Linked DNA regions of Homo sapiens: region 1 is linked to region 2. Evidence: promoter capture Hi-C in human tissues and cell types (Jung and others, 2019). All regions are on one chromosome and are shown on one strand. The core of a region is centred on a gene start or on the middle of the fragment in contact, and the rest is flanking DNA. Distances in the headings are between cores, read along the strand shown.

Region 1 (6,728 bases), core at 1,706-4,205, 500 kb before region 2:
AGTTTGGTTTAGGTAATGTTTCATTTAATCTACTCCAGTTTCCACAAAATGGCATTTTATTAAAAAAACCTTTCAGTTATTTGGTCCTTTTGCAATTTGCTGTGCACATAATGCCTACTGTACCAAACTTTTATTGCCTTTAAATTTAGTTGTAATTTTATTGATAAAATTTAAATCTAGTGTCTTTATTTCTTCTGTTACAATAGTGTTGCTTGTGTAAGCAGGTTAGAGTGCACAGTGTCCCCAATTGTTCCTGGCACTGCAAAACCAAATTAAACAATTCCACAAAGAATTCTGACATCAATGTGTTTTCCTCAGTCAGGTCTATTTCAAGATTCTAGAAGTTCCTTTTGTAAAACTTGCCTTTAAAACTCTTCCTCCTAATGCCATCAGATCTCTTAACATTGGCTCACTGTGGGATCTTTCCTCTTAGGTTGAATTTCTACGTGAATATCAAAGTGCCTTTTTCCTGAAAAAGCACAGTTTGAAGCTTTACTGTGAGAACTCCCTCCTCCTCAGCCTCTCAGTAGGTCTCAGAATCGGAGTCGTTGAGCTCATCCACGTCAGTGTATAAGTACTCCTGTTCCCCTCCAATGTTATTGAAACTGCAATAGGAGCTAGGTTCATTCCTCATGATGGGCAAAGCTTCAAAGCTGACTGTTTTTGAGGTGTTGGTATAACGGTTAATGGCATTGAATGTTAAGGATGATAAAGGACTACTTGATGAGACAGGCATCATGGTGGCCAAAATGAGAGCCAGGCAATCAGCCACATCCTTATTGGGAGCACAGGCCAAAGCTGGGGTATAGCCTAGAATTAAAGATAAAATTTAAAAATTAAGCATCCTGAGATGTATTTCACCAAAGACAAGGAAATAAGCCTAAAGTACTTCAACTTTAGACATATTTTACATTACTTAGCTTATAATAAATTGCTGTAACCAGCATGATTCGCAAGTTTCTAATAAGTAGAAAAAGAATAGCCATAGAAACCTAGGGTGGAAGGGGATGTTAGACTAGACAACAGAAGAGGAAGCAGGCCCAGAGAAGAATGATTCCCCAAGGTCTCACAACTTATCCGTATCCATCTGAATTCACAGAAAAAACTGGGCTAGAATAAGAAAAACACCACATATCGTGAATATTCTTTCAGGATGGTAGGCAGAGATTTACTGTTAATTTGCAGTTATATCAGTGTCAAGGTAAGAAAAAATAAAAAAATTTAATTTGTAGTTATGTAAGGAAACTTTTTGATGCTAAGAAATCTTAAATGTGTACAGCTTCATGAATCAGCCACAGGGCAGGTGCTCAAAAGATATGTGTTGAATGAATGACACTTAGTTGTCAATTTAACTTTTCTCTTGGGGTCACAGTCTCTTGAAGAAAAACAGTAGACAAACTAAGCAGATGAACTTTAAAAACTACTAAATCAAAACAAATATTTCCTTTGTAAATATTCCCTTTTTTTAAGCGGAAGACAACTGACCTTAGTCGTAAGTTACCACAAAGTGTCAACACAGCAAACCAAGGAGGAAACATTTGGTACCTCAGTTGGTACAAGACTCAGTCTTGAGGACGGAGCGGGAGAGAAGTGATAATAGTGTGATGCCAAGCTTCAATTATACCATATGGAACTTTAATAGTTTTATCACATAACATACATTTGTATAACCACCATACAGATTAAGAAAGAGAACATTACCAGCATACCAGAAGCCTCCATATATCCTCTACCCAGTCGTTACACCTTTCTTCTTCCACAATGGTAACTACTATCCTGACTTATGGGGTAGTAATTTCCTTGCTTTCAACTTGGAGTCATAAACACTATAGTTTTTTTTTTGTTTTTTTTTTTTTGAGACAGAGTCTGCTCGGTCACCCAAGCTGAAGTTCAGTGGTGCAAACTTGGCTCACTGCAACCTTTGCCTCCTGGGTTCAAGTGATTCACCTGCCTCAGCCTCCTGAGTAGCTGGGATTACACGTGTGTGCCACCATGACCAGCTAATTTTTTATATTTTTAGTAGAGATGGGATTTCGCTATGTTGGCCAGGCTGGTCTCAAACTCCTGGCCTCAAGTGATCTGCCTGCCTCGGCCTCCCAAATGCTGGGATTACAGATGTGAACCACCTTACCCAGCCTACAGTTTAGAGTTTTTAAAAAACTTAATATAAATGGAATCATGTAGTATGTATTATTTCATATCTGGCATTTTTGTGTAGCATTATATGAAATTTATCAATGTTGTATGTAACTGTAGTTGGTTCATTTTCATTGTTATACAGTATTTCATTGTGTGATTATACTATGGTTTAGTTATACATTTCAACTACTGGGCATCTGGTTGCTTCCAGTTCTCCCACATATTTTCATCTATGCTATATTGGCCTTGATAAAAAAAGGATTTTTTTTTTTTTTTTTGAGACAGGGTCTTGTTCTGTCACCCAGGCTGGAGTGCAGTATAATGATCATGCTCACTGCACCCTCAACCTCTGGGCTCAAGTGATCCTCCCACCTCAGCCCCCTGACTAGCTCTGACTATAGGCACATGCCATGCCTGGCTAATTTTTAAACTTTTTTGTAGATACAGGGTCTCGCTTTGTTCCCCAGGCTGGTCTCAAACTGCTGGCTTTAAGTGATCTTCCCGCCTCTGCCTCCCAAAGTGCTGGGATTATAGGAGTAAGCCACTGTGCCCAGCCACAAAAAGTAATTTTTCCCCCTTTGTAAAGTTCCCATTTTGTCAAGGGTCAAAGAGAACAACTGATGTCCTTCCAAGTTTGGCAGCAGTGGCTGAAGGCTGTCCGTATTTTTAATTAAATTTTATTTGTTCAAAGTAGCTGGGGGAGTGCTTCACTGCCCACACTTCTTTCAAGGGTTCTTCTAAAGGTGCCTGCTGCTGTTCCTGCTGCTGGCAGGCAGAACAACCCATTACATAGGCCAGGATGCCTTGGATGAGAGCGGGAGTGGGGAAAGAAGCTTGTTTCAGGTGTGTTTTCTAGTCAGAATATGACTAAAAACAGGCTCCTCTCCTCTGCATGGGGGTTATTTTTTGAGACGAAGTCTGGCTCTGTCACCCAGGCTAGAGTGCACTGGCATGATCTCGGCTCACTGCAACTTCTGCCTCCTGGGTTCAAGCGATTCTCTTGCCTCAGCCTCCCAAGTAGCTAGGATTACAGGCACATGCCACCACACCTGGCTAATTTTTGTATTTTTAGTAGAGACGGGGTTTTGCCATGTTGGCGGGGCTGGTCTCGAACTCCTGACCTCAGGTGATCCACTCGCCTTGTGCCTCCCAAAGTGCTAGGACCATAGGCATGGGCCACCATGCCCGGCCAGTTTTATCTCTTAACATGCCACTCTCTTTGCTTAGAAAGTTCCTCCCCCACTTTCTCCTTATCCTTTGGATTTTGGCTTAGCAGTTGCATTTTTTGGGATGCCTTCTCTGATCCTGCAAGAAAGGATTTGAAGACCCTCTTAAGTACTCTCATAGCATTCTATGCTTATTCCAATTAAACTATTTTAAGTGCATCGTTAATAGGCTGTTTGCACTCTTATCTCCATTCAAGGGAGTAGACTATGTCTTATTTTACACTATATCATCAGAAGTTAGTACAGTGCTTGGCATAATCACTCATGCAGCAAATATTCACTGAGCCTCCACTTGCTCAGGCACTATTTAGAACACTAAGAATATATCAGTGAATGCAACTGACAAAGATTTCACTGTTCTTGTGGAGCTTACATTCACTTTAGTGGAGAAGACACAAAATCAACATAACAAAAAAGTACATTATATACAATATGTTAAAAGCTTTATGTAAAAAAAGAGGAAAGAGTGGAGCAGGTTAACAAGGACTGAGAATGCTATGGTAGGGGTATCTAGCAAGTTGTAGTAAAGAATAGTTAGAATATGCTTCATTGAGAAGATGAAACTGGAGCTAAGATTTGAAACAGGTGACGAATTTAGTCATGGGATGTTTGGGGACAGAGTGTTCAGGCAGAGTAAACAGCCAGAATGAAGATCACAATGCATGTATAACCCTGCTATGGAGGGGCTGGCATGGCAGAATGAAGTAGAGAAAGGAGAAGAGTAGGAAATAATATCAGAAAGGTAACAAGGTGGAGGACACATCATGTAGGGCCTAGTAAGGTCATTTTAAGAACTATGAGTGGGGCCAGGTGGAGCACTCTGGGAGGCTGAGGTGGGGGGATTGCTTGAGGCCAGGAGTTCAAGACCGGCCTGGACAATATAGTGAGAGTCTGTCAGCACAAAAAATAAATTAGCTAGGCCTGGTGATGCATACTTATAGTGCTAGCTACTTGGGAGGCTGAGGTGAGAGGTTCTCTTGAGCCCAGGAGTTCAAGGTTACAATCAGCTATGATCTCACCACTGTACTCTAGTCTGGGCAACAGAGTGAGACCCTGCCTCTTCAAAAAAAAAAAAAAAAAAAAAAAAGAAGAAGAACCGAAATTCAAGAGTAACATGTTCTCATATACTTTAAAAGGATCCAGGTCAGTCTGGTAGCAGTAAAGAAAAAAGTGGGCATACTTTAGATCTACTTTAGAGGTGGAGTCAATAGTATATGCTGATGGACTATACATTGAGTATGAGTGAGAGGAATCAAGGATGACTCTAGGGGTTTTGCCCTGAGCCACTGTTAAGAATGAGAATTGTCTTCAATGGAGAGAGCATGATGCTGTGGGGAGAGTAGGTCTGGCAAGGGGAGTGGGAAAGGATCAACAGTTCAGTTCTGCACATTCTAGGTTTAAGCTGTTTATCAGACATCCACATGGATGTGTCAATTAGGCACGTGGATATATAGAGACTGTGAGAAGTCTGGGCTGGAGATATAAATCTGGGAATCCTCAGCATTATAGGTAGTATTTAAAACCAAAGGAACTGATGAGAGCACTAGGGAGTCAATGTAGATAGAGAAAGCAAAAAGAACGAAGAATTGAGTCCTAGAAGAAGAGGGAGAAATTTTGTAAAAGAAATTAAGAAGGAATAACTAGTAATGTAGAAGGAAAACCAAGGAAGAGTGGGGTTCAAAAAGCAGAGTAAAAAAATTTATCAAAGGAAACGATCAGTTGTGCCAAAAGCTGATCTATCAAGTAAAATGAGAGCTAAGTAGTAGTTAACACAGTAGAAGTCATTGGTGGTTTTGATGGGAACAGTTTTGCTATGTGTAGGGGTGAGGGGGAGAAGGCCTGACTATACGGAAATTAAGAGAGAATGGAAGAATGAGGCTGGACGCTGTGGCTCACACCTGTAATCCCAGCAATTTGGGAGGCCAAGGCAGGCAGATCACCTGAGGTCAGGGGTTTGAGACCAGCCTGGCCAATATGGTGAAACTCCGTCTCTACTAAAAATACAAAATTTAGCCAGGCGTCGTGGCAGGTGTCAGTAATCCCAGCTACCTGGGCAGGCTGAGGCATGAGAATCGCTTGAACCCAGGAGGCGGAGGTTGCAGTAAGCCGAGATCATGGCACTGCACTCCAGCCTGGGCAACAGAGCTAGACTCCGTCTCAAAAACAAACAACAACAACAACAACAAAAGAATGGAAGAATGAGAGGAATAACTGCGGACAGCAAGAGAGTAGTTTTGCTGCAAAAGGGGACAGAGAAATATGGCAGTAGCTGGCAGGAGCAGTGAGATTTATAAATTATTTTTTAAGGATGAGGGAACTAATGTTTATATACTGAGAGGAATAATACAGGAAGAGAGCGAAAAATGTTACTCCAGGACACAAAAGAGAACTGTCAAACTGACATTATGAAGTAGGCAAAAGGGGACAGGATCTAGTGCATGAGTAGAAACACTGGCTTTAAATAAGAATATTAGTACTTAACTAGGATCTTGATACATATTTGCTGAAAGAACAAAATCTTTGGCTACTAAAACAACAGAAAGTGGCAAGTATAAACAGTAAATACTAACTTTGCTGTAACAGATGATATAGGAATTCGGAAGTACATCTGTTAGATAACTTTTCCTATTTCTTTTGCCCTTATTCCTTTGCCACAAACTACTCTTCAATATTAACTTTAGCTCTCCTCTTTGACCAATAAAAAATATCCAAGTTTATTTCTCTTCAAATATGGATCAAAAGATAAAAGCTCTAGGTTAAGGGAAGAGAATATAGAACCAACTTACCATTTTCATCTACTGCAAGCACACTTGCTCCTTTTCCCAAAAGTTCCTGAACCACCATTGTTAGCCCATTTCGGGCAGCAACATGCAGAGGTCTAGGGGAAAAAACATGATACATGTACACATATGTGCATGTGCATGCACATACACATACACACCTGGCTGTCAAAGAGCATTTTTGTCAACTTGTGAAGACCAAGAGGTACAAACTCGAGAAACCTAGTCCTAATAACAAAGATGGGGGCAGGGAGAGCAGAACCTCTGTGCAGTGCACTGTCACACCTTGTCAACGTGTAGCTCGGCATCAAGCTCAGCCATAGGTCCCATCGACAGGTCCCTACCTTCACCCAATCCTTTTGTTACTTTTCTTTTCAATGTTTAAAAACATTTTACCATTGAAATTGCATTCCTCCGTTGTTAAGGAATGAGGCTGGTAAAGATACAGACTATACATTAAAAACTGTAAACTGCAGTAGCATAAATTCTAATAGGCTTTGAAAACAGCTTACAAGCATCATGACTAATTTTTGGACCTTCAAGGGATCTGACTAATCCCAGAACGGGCAACAATATTCTAAGA
Region 2 (6,689 bases), core at 3,047-5,546:
ATTTGGCTTGCACTTCTGCAGGCTGTACAAGAAGACTGTGCCAACATCTGCTTCTGATGAGGACCTCAAGCTGCTTCCATTCATGGTGGAAGGCAAAGGGGAACCTGCACCTGCAGGGATTACATGGCGAGAAAGGGATTAAGCAAGAAATGGGGGCGATGCCAGCCTCCTTTTAACAACCAGATGTCACAGGAACCAACAGAGTGAGAATTCATTCACCCGGTCTCCCTCTGCTCCAAGCAGGAAATTCACCTATTCATGAAGGATCCACCCTCATGACCCAGACACCTCCCATTAGGCCCCACCTCTAACACTGGGAATTAAATTTCGACATGAAGTTTGGAGGAACAAACATTCAAACCATAGCACCAAGTCAAACAAAAAAATGCCTGGGGTTAAGTTATTTGGGGAATTGCCTCTCTAGCTTCCCTTATTCTTGCTCTTTTCACCTCAGCTTGAGATGGGAAGAACAGCGACTGGGCCGTTGATGACATCTTCTTGAATTGCTTGGGCCAGGTCTGCTATTGCTTTGCAGAATTTTTTGTTTTTCACTAGCTGATGTCTACTGTTCCTTTCATGAATACTCTCAGTCTCTGATTTGTTCTGGCACTTTAACCTGCCATCCATCTGAACAGAAAAATTTCATTTTTTTCTAGGAAAACAGCAGAATTGTTAACACCAAAGCTGCCATGGCTTATGAGAAAACAGACAGATGAAAAGCTAAAGAGAGAAACATACAGAAACCCCAGTGGCGGTCTAATTGGGGTGTTGATCATCTCACCTCTCTGAGCAATGAGACAGCCTGGAGGTTAGATCAACAATGCTCTGAGTCCCAGGAGAGACCCACGGCCTGCATCTGGGACTTCACCAGATCTAGTTTATCTTGAACTGGAGCCAAGAATCCCAGGCCAGAGTCACCCAGCCCCAGTTCTTTTGGGAGCCTTTTTTCATGGGCTGTCTCTGTCATGGGAAGGCCATGGGCTGAGGAGGTTAGTGTGATGCCTAACCTCACTAGAGGTTGAGGAAGGAGATGGAATGGGAGAAGGAGAGATGGAAATGACAGAGCTAGAGCAAGAGTTGAGAGAAGGCAGAGGAGGGTGGGAGGGTGGGGAGGGCAAGAGGAACTGTATCCGTTTCCTGCGGCTGCCATAACAAAGTCCCACAAGTGGGTGGCTTAAATAACAGAAATGTATGATCTCACAGTTGTAGCAACAAGAAGTCCATGATCAAGGTGTTGGCAGTGCTGGTTCTTTCTTAGGACTGTGAAGGACAGTCTGTTTCATGTCTCTCCTAGCTATCAGTGATTTCCTGGCCATCTTTGATATTCCTTGGCTTTTAGATGTGTCACCCAGGTCTGCCCTCTTCTTCACATGATGTTCTCTGTGTATGCCTGTCTCTGCCCAATTGTCCCCTTTTTGTAACAATACCAGTCATATTAGATTAGGGCCCACCCTAACAACCTCCTTTTAACCTGATAATCTACAAAGATCCTATTTGCTGTCAAGGCCCCCTTCACAGGTTCCCCAGCAGAGGCAGGGCTTCAGTGTAATTTTGGAGGACACGATTCAACCCATGATAGGAGCAAGGGTGAGAAAGAGAGGAGAAGGGAGCAAGGTCTGGGCCTCATGTGCCAAGTGATGGTGGGGGATGGGAAGAACTGGCAGCAAAGCTGTCAGGGACAGCAGCAAAGGCCTGGGGAGTGGAAAAATGTGCTTTGTGTACTCTGGAAAAACAGCAGTGAACAAGCAAACAAAAGCCCTACCCTTGTGGAGCTTATGTTTTATGGGAGTGGGTGGAGAAACAGACAATAAACACCTTAGTATTTTAATTTTCCAGGTGTTGAGAAGAGCCACAGAGATTCTCAAAGAAAGCCCCATGTTGATGAGGGGTTTCAATGTAGAATGGGGGGTCCACGAAGCCTTCACTAAATAGGTGACATTGGAGTGAACACAAAAATGAAGAAATGAGCCACATGGATGACTTTCTGGGGAACACAAAAATGAAGAAATGAGCCATATGGATGACTTTCTGGGGAAAGAGTGCTCAAGCAGTGGGCTGGCCAGGGTGACAGCCCTGGGGTGGGCTGTTCTTGGTAAGTTCAAGCACAGCGTTGCTAGAGATGAGTGGAAGATGGTGACTCTGCACACTCAGTTTTCTGAAGGCCTCCTGGATTTGGAACCTTCTAATCCTTCATCCTCATTAACCTCAAAATGTCCCCAGATATTCTGAACTACATCTCCCAGGGTGTCTGCCTCTTGAATTTGGAAATGACACAGTATTCCCACCTGGCAATACACCGTGATTTGAGATTTGGAAGACACAATTCAATCCAGAAATTGCTAAGCACTGTCCACTGGGGCATTACAATGGGATTCCAGGAGAACAACCACACATAACCCACTATTTCACCTCTGACTTCATGAAAACACACGTGTATACATGCTTGTGCACGTGAGTGTGCACAGACACACCACACACACTGGAAGAAACAACTGAGTCAAAAGGTAAAACATTTTTTTCCACAAACATTTTAGCTGACATTCTAAGATCAAAATAAAGACAAAAACAATGAGCAAGTTCATTGCAGGACTTCCCCAATGGCAGTTTTCCCCCCTCCACTCTTGGTTGCAGACAGCATGGCTGCTTTACAGCCATCAGAAGAAACACTGCTCATGGTGATGGTCAGCTATCCTTCAACCTGTTCAAGCCAGAAGCCTGAAAACTGAGCATGCTGGATTCTCTTCTCCCTTCTACCTACCTCACTCCCTCAGTGATCTCAGGTCTCACGGCTTCAAACACTATCTGAGTGCTGCTGGAGTCCAGCTTTGTATATGCAGGCCAGACCTCCCCCTGACCTTCAGCTATCCTACAACTGCTGCCTTCACTTCATCTCCTCTTAGCTGTCTAGAGGACATCTCGAATGTCACATGTTCCAAATCAAGCCACTGGCATGCATTCATCTCCTTCCACCTTCTCTCCTTCCCCATCTTGGTTAATGGCAAGTCTATTCTTCCAACTACTCAGAACAAAAATTTGAACTCATCTTGACTCTTCTCTTCCTCTCACATTAGTCATTAATTCATCAGCAAATCCTATAGGTTCTTCCTTAAAGTATATCCACAAGCTGACCCCTGTCACCACCGATGCCACTTAGTGCAAGCCAAGAACCTCTTGGTTGGTCTCCCTGCTCCTGCTTTTTGCCCCCCACTGATTAGTCTCAACCCAGCAGCCAGAATGATCCAGTTAAAACCCAAGTCAGATTGTGTCTCTCCTCTAAGGGCTCCCCTCTCACTCAGAGGAAAAGCCAAAGTTCCTTCAATGCAACCAGGGGGTGTCCTGCATGGTCCTCCTGCCCCCCGCCCCCTTGCCTCTCTTATTCCACTTCCCATCAGGCTCCACCCTGCTCTCTTTGCTTCAGCCATGCCGGCTGTTCCTCAGACATGCCAGCATACTCTTGCCTTGGAACCTTCACATTTATCATTCTGTCTGCCCCGAACACTCAACCTCAAATAGCTGTGCAGCCCTCTCCTTTACACAAATGGTAACTCTTCCATGAAACCTTTCTCCACCACTCAATGTCCATTTCCAAGCCCAGCCCATGCTCCCCAGCCCCATCCCTGCTCTGCTTTTTTGCCTTCATCCTCATCACTATCTGACCCAGTGGATAGTTTTAATTGTATCTGTCACTAGAATGCAAGCTCCATGAGACACACATTTTTGTCTGTGTTATTCATTGCTCTACTTCCAGTTCCCAGAACAATTTTGGCACATAGCATGTGTTCATTAATTATGTGTTGGTTAAATGAAGGAAGCTTTATGAGGGAAAGAGCATGCCACTCCTCTTCCAGCGTCCCCCTTGGTGGCCAGGGCAGAGCAGGCATTCAGCTGCTCTTGTGGGAGAAGAAGGGACTTGCAAGATCATCTCCCTTAGCTCCCTCATTTTCAGGAGGCCAGGGACAGTGGTCCCCAGGAAGGGAAGGAGAGTCCAACCTAGTTTGCCTGATCCCCCATGGGAGGCTGAGGTTGCAAACAGACAGCTGCAGCTCCTTGCAGCTATGCCACACACACAGCCTTTCTGAATCAGAGGGTATTAGTCTTTCCTTCTGAACTCTTGGGATATTCCTGTTTTGATTTGGCTCTAGCAGTGACCACACCGAGTTGTGCAAAGCCTGGGAACAGTGAGGGCATTAGGACCAGGAGTGACGCGCACGCTTGGCTCTGGGTTGTGTCTGGCAGAGGGCTCTCGGCTGAGTGGAGCTATGTGTGAAAGGAAACCAGGCACTGCCTGCCGGCTTTACATCTGTTGATCTGACCTGACTGGAAGCGTCCAAAGAGGGACGGCTGTCAGCCCTGCTTGACTGAGAACCCACCAGCTCATCCCAGACACCTCATAGCAACCTATTTATACAAAGGGGGAAAGAAACACCTGAGCAGAATGGAATCATTATTTTTTTCCCAAGGAGAAAACCGGGGTAAAGGGAGGGAAGCAATTCAATTTGAAGTCCCTGTGAATGGGCTTTCAGAAGGCAATTAAAGAAATCCACTCAGAGAGGACTTGGGGTGAAACTTGGGTCCTGTGGTTTTCTGATTGTAAGTGGAAGCAGGTCTTGCACACGCTGTTGGCAAATGTCAGGACCAGGTTAAGTGACTGGCAGAAAAACTTCCAGGTGGAACAAGCAACCCAGGTTCTGCTGCAAGCTTGAAGGAGCCTGGAGCGGGAGAAAGCTAACTTGAACATGACCTGTTGCATTTGGCAAGTTCTAGCAACATGCTCCTAAGGAAGCGATACAGGCACAGACCATGCAGACTCCAGTTCCTCCTGCTGCTCCTGATGCTGGGATGCGTCCTGATGATGGTGGCGATGTTGCACCCTCCCCACCACACCCTGCACCAGACTGTCACAGCCCAAGCCAGCAAGCACAGCCCTGAAGCCAGGTACCGCCTGGACTTTGGGGAATCCCAGGATTGGGTACTGGAAGCTGAGGATGAGGGTGAAGAGTACAGCCCTCTGGAGGGCCTGCCACCCTTTATCTCACTGCGGGAGGATCAGCTGCTGGTGGCCGTGGCCTTACCCCAGGCCAGAAGGAACCAGAGCCAGGGCAGGAGAGGTGGGAGCTACCGCCTCATCAAGCAGCCAAGGAGGCAGGATAAGGAAGCCCCAAAGAGGGACTGGGGGGCTGATGAGGACGGGGAGGTGTCTGAAGAAGAGGAGTTGACCCCGTTCAGCCTGGACCCACGTGGCCTCCAGGAGGCACTCAGTGCCCGCATCCCCCTCCAGAGGGCTCTGCCCGAGGTGCGGCACCCACTGTAAGTAAGGCCCTTGTTTTCCCTTCCCTGATCCCAGGGCATGATCGGGTGGTAGCAAACTCGGGAATGCAAACTTTCCGTAGCCTGCCTCTCCTGACTTAGAGCAAGTGCTTTTCAAGATGCAGTACCTGGGCCAGCAGCGTCAGCAGCCCCTGGGCACTGGTGGGTTCTCAGAAATGCAGATTCTCAGACCCCATCCCAGACCTGCCAAACAAGAAACTCTGGGTGGGGTCCAGTGGTCTGTATGAACAAGCCCTTCAGGTGAGAATCATTGTCCTAGAAAGCAGAAAGTGAGGACTCTTGCTTGTTCATTCTCTTCTCCGTCCTGGGTTCTAGTTCTTCTGTCTTTAGGTCAAATGGCTTTATTTCTATAACACAGAAGGGAGGTTAGAGCAGACATTTGCCAGTTCTAACACTCTGACTCCACTACATTTTGATTTTAGGGTTATTGTTAGTGTTTGCTTTTAGTTTGGATCAAAATAACAATTGCAGTTTACATTTAGGGGGCTCTTCCCATGCGTCTGGATTTACTTTACAAGCTTTTAATGTATTAACTCATAAAGTCCTGGAAAGTCCTCACAGCTCTGCAAGATGGGTGCTAGTAGTATCATCATGCTTATTCTATAGGTATGAAAACAAGGTGAAGTTGCTTTCCCAGTCACGCTGCTAGTAGGTAACAAAGTCAGGATTTGAATGCAGGCATGTGAGCTCCAGTCTGCCTGACCCACCACTCCATGCCACCTGCCTTGGGCCACTAGACTAAGGAAACAGGTCCAGTGCCTGAGAGCCAGAATACTGTGCTGACTGCAATTTACCCTGCCAGGGCAGCCCCAGCCCCAGGAGGTAAGCTGAGAAGTGTAGGTGATGGGCAGAGCTGTGCCCAGGGAGATGCTGGCCCATCCTCCACACCCCCTGCTCCCTTACTGTCACCATGGCTGACCACTGAGGAGGGAGCCTTGGTTACCAGCATCCAGGGAGCAAGGCAGCTTGTTAGTTTTAGTTTGGTGATTTAGGTCCCTTTTCCTATAGGCCATTGCTCCTCCCAGAGCCTGGAGAGTTTCCTGGAAAGCAAACATTTGTGCAGGGCAGCAGTTGGAAGCAGGGCCACACACTCTTCGGATCCCTGATCTAGTTCCCCTCAGCCTGGCTGCTCAGCCACTCACACTCGAGGGTGTGCAATTGCAGGGTCAGCAGCCGGGAGTGAACATCTCCTTAAATTGTGTGCCCCGGGTGCCTCACTCACCGCACCCTACTTCCATTTCAAACCCGCTACACTGTTTTCAAGCCTTACCTTTAAAAGCTATTTTCAGGAAATTCCCACCCCATTCTAGTTTTGTGCCCTCCTTGCACCCTGGAGTTTTAACTCACAGCACTTACAAAAC

Evidence for each region. Contacts are between HindIII fragments. The study calls those that stand out against the background at their distance.
Region 1: a fragment that was not itself captured here is called in contact with the fragment with the promoter of GALNT15 in region 2 in 2 of the 25 tissues and cell types used here (aorta and dorsolateral prefrontal cortex).

What each region holds. Positions count from the first base shown.
Region 1 is chr3:15,669,747-15,676,474 of GRCh38, forward strand. ANKRD28 (ankyrin repeat domain 28) reads right to left here. Exons shown (of 28, transcript NM_001349278.2): 27 at 6,152-6,243; 28 at 1-810. The coding sequence ends at 524. It also overlaps a transcript of BTD not described here. Among named protein-coding and RNA genes, the nearest start is that of MIR3134, 24 kb to the right of the region's middle. The HindIII fragment of the contact is 4,777 bases long and covers 568-5,344 here.
Region 2 is chr3:16,170,384-16,177,072 of GRCh38, forward strand. GALNT15 (polypeptide N-acetylgalactosaminyltransferase 15) reads left to right here and starts at 4,297. Exons shown (of 10, transcript NM_054110.5): 1 at 4,297-5,307. The coding sequence starts at 4,769. The HindIII fragment of the contact is 4,561 bases long and covers 712-5,272 here.